Linked DNA regions of Homo sapiens: region 1 is linked to region 2. Evidence: promoter capture Hi-C in human tissues and cell types (Jung and others, 2019). All regions are on one chromosome and are shown on one strand. Each heading gives the region's core, a stretch centred on a gene start or on the middle of the fragment in contact. The rest is flanking DNA. Distances are from core to core; before and after follow the strand shown.

Region 1 (3,909 bases), core at 835-3,334, 320 kb before region 2:
GCCAAATTCAGAGGCCTTGTAACCACAGGGCCTCAGCCTAGTGACCAAACCGAGACCAAACAGTAACCTTCTGGTGCTGTTTACAGCTGGCAAAAGACCACTTTGGGCTTCACAGTAAAAAGAGTTAGAAAATTGTATGAAAAGGCTCAGAAGACTCACGGACATCAAATAGCTCTAACCAAACCAATGTAATTAGTTAAGTATAAATGAATCAGAACCATATGGCTTAAATGCTAAAGGAAAAAGAGTTGGAGGAAAAAATGTCCTTTGGGATTTAATCAAACAAAAATTGCTGGAAAAATCGTTGATGTCCACCAAGCTCAGACCCCAACTGGGTGCCCTCCAATCCTGCTTTAGCATTTCTCTCCTTCCCAAGGTACTCGCCGTGAAGCAAGGGTGACTTCTGGGTCCTGCTCTCTTGATGCTGGGCGTCATAGGGATGGAGTAGGTGTGGAGTGGGCACTAAGGCTCAGGGAATCTGGGGAGCACTGAGAAGGGGTGCCCAAGTCAGCCCTTGGCAGACTGGGAATGGCTTCCCTGTGGAGATGAAACTGAGCCAGGATTACAAGTAGACGAGGGATTGTGGGGCTGGGGTGGAGTGGGCATTTTGGAGGAGGCAGTGGCGTATGCACGTGCACAGAGGATAGACGAAACCTGGGACGATCATGGAACTGCAAGAAATTTGGAGTGGCTGGTTCTCAACTCATGCCTTCCTTCCCTGGCCACCCAATTAAAGGCACACGGCCTCTTCCATTCACTCTCAATCACATCGCCCTGTGGCATTCTCCTAGCAACACTTTTCACAGAAAGAAAGAAATGCTCTCATCTCTTTCTTTCTCTCATTGTTATTTACATTCCCTGGCATGTAAGCTTCTTAAGAGAAAGGCTCTTGTTTGTCTTGTCCCCCCACTGTGCACTGTGGTTCTAGCAGCTAACACAGCATCTGACTTGGAGTGGCTGCCCAGTACGCATTTGAAGAATGAATGAATGGAAAGTGAATGAGCGAATGGCTGGAGAGTAGAAGACGTGAGGGATGGGGAAAGAAGAAAGACTGGAGAAGTGGGCAGGTGCCAGGCCTGGAAGACTGTACGTGGTGCTAAGAGGCCCCTGAAGGTAATGGAAAGCCAATCAAGGGTTTCTAGGAGGATGTGATGAGGATGCGATAAGGTAACACTGTGTTATGTTGTTGGGAATCAGTGAAGGTGGGAAACCTGGAACCCTGGAGAAAATGAGTGACAACCAAATCCTACGTTTGTTTGGTGTTTCCCCATCATCCCTCAAAGGGTGTGTAAGATAGTGAGCCATGTAGAATAAGTAATTAATTAATGCTGCGGGTTAATAAGGGGTAGATGACTCTCAATTGCTACATGCAAGCTGTTATTTTCTCATTTAGAAAAAGGATCTTGTGGCTCACTGTGGAAAATCATCTTCCAGAAAAAAGAAAGAGACATGTATGTCGGCTCTGTCTAGAATATTTTCTCTGAACCAGAATCTCTTTCCGTAGGGTAGCTGCCCTTGGCAACTCTCGGGTTACAAGAAGCTGGGCAGGAGATTCCTGTGACATTTCAGCAGAGTCACGAGTGGGTGGGATGGGGAAGCTCCGAGCTGCAAAATAGGTAAGTTGCTCAATGTCCCTGGAAAACCTCCGAGGACAGAACTGAGTGTGATTTGGGGGAGTATTTTAGGTTCAGAGACATCTTTATGTTAGGCGAGAAATTCATGCCCCAGGCTCGTGGAGTTGCTCATAACAGTGTGTTATTGCTGGAAGCCCCAGAGGAGCTTGGACTCAGCTCCCTTAACAGGGGGCTGAGCCTCTCTGAGAAAGCTGTTTACTTCCCCAGACACATCAGTCTCACTTACCCATGTTTATTGCTTCTGCTCCTCTGCTTTACCCTCCAGGCCTCAGGTGCAGGAGAAGCCAGTCCTCTTCTCTAAACAGAAGACACTGCAATCACCGTAGCTAGATCTTCCTTAGTGTTTGCCATGTACCCGCTCTCGTTCCAGGCGTGTTCTAGGTGTATCATCTAACTGGGCCTTCAGAGCTCGGAAGCTCAGAGAGCTGAAATCACTTGCTCAAGGTCACACAGTCAGTACAAGTGGAGGTTTGAGCACTGCGCCTCTTAGAGTCCCTCACCTCAGGTGATTTTAACCCTTACATATGGAGCTTGCCAGAAACTCAAGCCCACCCTTTTCCTCCACACCATGTAACTCTGCCCTGGTTTTATCAAGAAGCACCTGCCTTCTCTTCTGGATTTAAATAGTAACGTTTGTGGTGAGCATTTGTGGGCTTGGGACTGTTCAGTGGCCAGCAGCACTTCCATTCCCTATGGAGACCCACCCTCCATTGTGTGCCATCACGGCACAGTGGGTGATGAACTTGCCCCTTACACAGAAGCACAAACACCCAGTTCTCCCCCTCTCTTCTCCAGCTGCAACCAAACGGTATGCACATAATCCAGGCTAGGGTAGCCACATGTTCCCTCCAGGACTTGGACCCTTGAGTGAGTGATTTGGGGCCGGGAGGAGCGGCTGGAGGCTCTCCAGGCCAGCGGCAGCGGTGGCGTGCTGGCCACCCATTCTCGTGACCTTGCTAAGGCCCCTGTTGCTTAACTCTCTGGCAAGCCCTTGGTTTCTGGCCATTTTCCAGACTTCATCACTCTTCTCTGCCAATTCTATGAGCCCCTGATAGCCTTCCAATAAATTCCACTTGATTACCACATGGCTTGCAATCAAGAACCCAGCATAACACACAACCACTTATTAAATACTAAGTAAGAGCCAGACACTTGACATGTGACATCTTGTCAGATCCTCAAACACCCCGGTGAGGAAAGCGTTATTATCCCTGTTTTCCAAATGAGGACACTGAGGCTCAGGGAGCTGGGTGATGTGTCAAAAGTTGCCCAGCTGCAGAGTGGCAATGCTGGAATTTGAAGCCAGGCTTTTCTGATTCTGAATTCCATGTTTTCTTACTTGCCTTTTTCTTCTGCTCCAGCTTGCAGTGCCTCGGAGAGGTGGCGCTGGCTAGCCTGGGACTTCCAACATACAGCCTACATTGATGGCCTGAGACTTGTGGCAAAAAAGACTTTCAAAATCTAATTTGCTCACATACATGAACACCTGCCAGGAAGGAATTTGAGGCCTTTGTTCTAAACATGGAAAAGCTGAGTTCATTTGCCCCAGAGGGGGCACCTGCAGGGAAAAGGAAAAATGGTTTTAACCCTTTCCTTGAGTCAGAAAATGAGGCCACCAGATTCTCCTTTCATCCTTCAAGTATCAGAAAGGTCTGTGCTGTGAATTCCACAGATGAGATTCATTGCAAGATGTGAGGGCAGAGGAAATCCATGGAAATGGTGAGTTCTTTCATATTTGTGCCTTTCTATTGTCAGTTTGGGGATATTTGAGAGAAGTTTGAGCTGCGTATGAAGAACCCATTTACTTTTATGCAGCTTTCTGGGGGAAATTTTGGAATTCCTCAAATCCAAGAATTTTGAGATTTTAGAACCTCCAAGAGGCCTGACCTGTTGAACAATCCCCCAGCCTTCATGCCCCAACCGCCTCTCCAGTGACTCCTCATAACTATACTTTATTTTTTTCTTTATTCTCTTTTTTCGAGACAGGGTCTCACTCTGTCATCCAGGCTGGAATGCAGTGGTGTGATCATAGCTCACTGCGGCCCTGATCTCCTGGGCTCAAGTGATCCTCCCGCCTCCGCCTCCCAAGTAGCTGGGACTATAGGCATGCCACCACGCCCAGCTAATTTTCTATTTTTTATTTTGTAGAGTTGGGTTTTCACCATGTTGCCCAGGCTGGCCTCGAACTCCTGGGCTCAAGCAATCCTCCCGCTTTGGCCTCTCAAAGTGCTGGCATTACAAGTGTGAGCCACCACGCCCAGCTTTGTACTTTCTT
Region 2 (3,840 bases), core at 595-3,094:
AATCCCGGAAAGCCACCTGCCTTCCACCGAGGGGGAAGGGTCAGACAACCCTCTTTTGACCTGTGTCCAGTTCCTCCTGGCCTGGCCCCTTGCAGCACTAGGTGGGTGGGGGCTTGGGGAGCTGACGCTTCCTATTCCCTTTGCCCGCCGCCCCCCGACCCCCACCATGCAGAGGCAGCCCTGGTCTGGTTCTAATCGGGGCTGAAGTCGGCTCCCTTTTTCGCTCTTCTCTCTCCCTCCCCCCAACCCTTTTTCCTTCATTTCTACGGCTTTGGAAGCCAGAGCGTTCCAACTGTCTGCGTGCCAAGACCTTCCCGAGTCTGAAAGCTGCTGAAGTAACAGATCAGATTTTAGCAAGTGCTTTCCAGGCCGAGCGCCAAGCCCTCTTCTGATTCACGGAGAGCGAGCGAACCGGGAGCAGGCGGGGAACCAACGAGGGCTGCACCACCTTAGGCGAGGGAGTGCGGAGCGCGGCCCATCCGGGAGCGGCCTCGCGGGCAGCGGCCACTCGGCCTAGGCGCCCTCGAGCTTCCCCTCGTCCCGGGCATGTGTGTGTGTCTGTGTGTGTGTCTCAGTGCTGCAAGCGCCTTCAAAACCACAGAGTAATTTACAACTGAAGCTTTCTCCCTGGACTCGAAATCCACTCGGCTGAAAGTCTTTTTGTTTGGAAGCGGCGATGTTAAGGGAAGGTTGGCAGAGAAAATCCCTAGGTCCTACCCCTCGCTGGCTGCGGGCAGGGGTCTTAGAGCTGGGTATATTGTTGCGGCTGAGCCCGCCGGCTCTGCGGGATCTCCTCCCAGCCGAGGCCGACAGTGGCCGCGACAGCCAGCGCCTCCTCGGGCCCCGCGGCAGAGCCCCTTGCCCTTGGCCGGTTCCCCGCCGGCGCAGGGCGCACGCGGAGCCGCCCTTCCGCGCCCTGGGAACAGGTGCACTGGGCTCAGCGCCCAGGAGGGGTGGGGCACAGGGAGGGGGCGCGGCCGGGGAAGGGGGGTCGGCGTGTACCGCGAGGCAGGGGCGGGAGGAGGTCAAAGTCAGGAGCCCACGTACCTGTACCTGGAAGCACAGCAGCAGGAAGTGTAAACACCTGCGGGAAACAGATGGAGAAGCGGTCAGTGGGACCTGAGGAAGGGGGCGCACGGACAGACAGACACGCAGTCGAAGAGTCAGGTGAACCGACGGGCGGGCAGACAGAGGTACAGGGCACAGGCATACGGACAGACAGCCAGGCAAGGTGGGCAGCCCCGCGCGCGGGCGCTTACAGGCAAGTGCAGGCGGAGGGCGCTGAATACATCGCTGGGCGGGAGGGAGGCGGCGGCTCCTAGCCCAGCCTGCACATGTCCGCTCCGCGCGGCCGGGACCGGGCGCCTCCGCCGCCGCCGCCGCCGCCGCCGCCGCTGCTGCTGCTCCCTCCTCGCCGGCTGCTGCTGCTGCAGACTCTGCTGCTCCGGGGCGCTCCGCGGCGCGCCCTGCGGCATCAGCGCCCCGCGCGGCTCCTCCCGAGCGCTGCGCCCTCCGGGCTGGCGCAGGGGCTGCGGGGCGGCAGCCGCTGTGCAGGAGGCGCCTGGCCGGTGCGGGGAAGCTCGCTCACTGCTGGCCGGCCGGCCGTCCGGGCGTCCGTGGGAGGCTGGCTGCCCGGCTCAGTCCGGGGACAGCATGCGCGGCGGGTCTGGAAGCCGAGTTGCGCTCTCCGGCCCGGGCGCGGAGCTGCGTGGGGCCAGGGGTCAGCGCTCCGGGGTCGGGGCGCGCGGCTGCAGCGCGAAAGCGTCACGGCCGCTCCGTCTGGGCGCCCGCCGGCTCATGTCTCCTCCTCCGCGTCTCTCCGGCCGTGCGCATCGCCGCCTCCCACCACTGGCGGCGGCCGGGGCGTTTTCTACGCGCGGGCGGCGAGGGGGCGGGGGGCCGGGGGCGGGCCCGGGCCCGAGCCGGCACAATGAGGATGCGGGGCCTGGGGGCTCCCCCCTCGGGGCGCGGCCGGACGGGCGCTCAGCTCGCCTGGGTGCGCCCAGCCCACATCAAAGGCGGCCCTGCCTGCTCGCCTGCCTGCCGCGGCCTCTCGCTGCCTCCTCCTCCTTCTCCTGGCGGCTCGGGGTTGGAGGGGAGGCGCTCAGACTCTCGGAGACGGGACCGGCAGCTCCAAAGGGGCAGGACCCGCGAGACTGAAGCTGGTGAGCGCTGGAAGCCGTCGGAGCTCTGCGCCCGAGCGCAGTGACCGCTCCTCCGCGCAAACGTTGCCCAAATTGGGCAGGCGATGCTCCCCAAGAACGCAGTTAGGTACGGAACGTCCTCACCTGCCCACATTCGCTACTCGCACTCACTCACCAGCGCTCTAGTGGAGAGCCGAGAGGGGCGGGTCAAACCCAGCCCCGGGGCGGCTCCACTGAATGGGGGTCGCTTTTACCCGCCCTGCGATCGTGGAGTTTCCCAGCCACCCTCTTGACTGGCTACCCACTTAAGTGAGCCCCCGTCCTCTTCTTACGTCCCTGCCGCTGCGAAGGGGGCTCCCGGGCATCTCTCCTTCCCACCCCTCGCCCCCTCCGGGGCTCTGGGGTCGGTTCACGGGATCCCAGCTGGACTCTCCCGTAGGCGAGCCAGCTTTGGAAACACACGGCTACCACCAAGCGGCCCCGAGACGTCACTGCAACCCCAGCACGGACGGCTGCACGCCGGGGAGCAGCCAGCAGGACTCTGGTCAGCGACCACGCTGAGGCCCTCTTCCGGCCTCCTCCCAAAACCGGACTAAGACTTGCCTCCGTTTGCATACTAGGCAGCTTCGTTCCTTTAACCAGGGCCCCATTCAGGACACTGGTTCTTACCGCCTCTGCCCCTTCCAGAGGCATAACTCCTGTCCTTCCCACCAACCCCAAAACGTAGGTGTTCTTGTCACGTACCTGCCTCACTGTCTAGAGCTGGTGTCAGCCAAGCTCTGCTTGAGCCTGATGCTAAGGAAAATAGGTCACAGTGAGAAAGACGCTGGAGGACAGGCTCAAGCAAAACTCAGGAATCTGGACTATTTGGTTAAAGCCTCCTTGCGTTGGCAATGGTTGATGGTCCACTGGAGCATAAACTGAGGTAGGACTGTCGAACAGTGCTATTTGCTGAAGCCATGACTATAAAACATTAGTAATTGTTCCAAATATCAGGCCTCCTTGCAAGCTATTTTAAGTTCCCTTTCAAAGCTGAGGCTATTTTAAACAGATAGCCTCTGTTTCAACATCGGACACAAGTGCAGAAAACCTTTTCAAAACCAGGTGCTGAGGGGGAAAATTCCTGCATGAAGCTTTTAAGCTGAATTTACTTAGACATTCTGATTGCCAGAGCTGGACTTGCAGAGTTACTCGTAACTTCCCAAGTTCTGGAGAAAATGAATCGATCCCAAGATAGGATGCAATGACCAACCATAAATAGAAATGGACAGAAATGCTCCCACCGATGACCCGAGTCATTGCCGCCGTCTTTGATCTTGCTTTATAGGAAGATTGACAAACCCAGTCGAGGAGTTTTTGGCTTACCATCTGCTAGTTTGAAGTATCTCCTGGCTAAGAATCATGCTTCCAATTTTCTATATTGTTACTATTTTTTATTACTTGTGAATGGAATGGGTATATAATTATTTATACCCTATCTAAAATGCTTGCAGTATTTTTCAATGCTCAAAGTATATTTGCCAATCTCACCTACCAAACAAATCAGACTGACCAAAAAGTCCAGCCAAGAGAACAGTTCTGAGTAAGAGCATAAACTCAGGAGTCAGAAGTACTGCATTTGAATACTGCCACCAACATTTACTTATAAATTCCAGCAAGCAACGGTTTGAGATTCTGCTTCCTCCTCTACAAAATA

What was found. Contacts are between HindIII fragments. The study calls those that stand out against the background at their distance.
Region 1: a contact is called between a fragment that was not itself captured here and the fragment with the promoter of FGF18 in region 2, in 1 of the 25 tissues and cell types used here (H1 embryonic stem cells).

The regions. Positions count from the first base shown.
Region 1 is chr5:171,736,421-171,740,329 of GRCh38, reverse strand. It overlaps LOC105377724 (a long non-coding RNA gene), which reads left to right and starts at 2,517. Exons shown (of 5, transcript XR_001742983.2): 1 at 2,517-3,353. It overlaps LOC105377723 (a long non-coding RNA gene), which reads right to left and starts at 1,945. Exons shown (of 2, transcript XR_941215.1): 1 at 1,861-1,945. The HindIII fragment of the contact is 7,714 bases long and covers 1-3,909 here.
Region 2 is chr5:171,417,651-171,421,490 of GRCh38, reverse strand. FGF18 (fibroblast growth factor 18) reads right to left here and starts at 1,844. Exons shown (of 5, transcript NM_003862.3): 1 at 1,260-1,844; 2 at 1,048-1,084. The coding sequence starts at 1,291. RefSeq lists silencers at 1,338-1,417, 1,478-1,527, 1,668-1,777, 1,898-2,007. The HindIII fragment of the contact is 5,522 bases long and covers 1-3,840 here.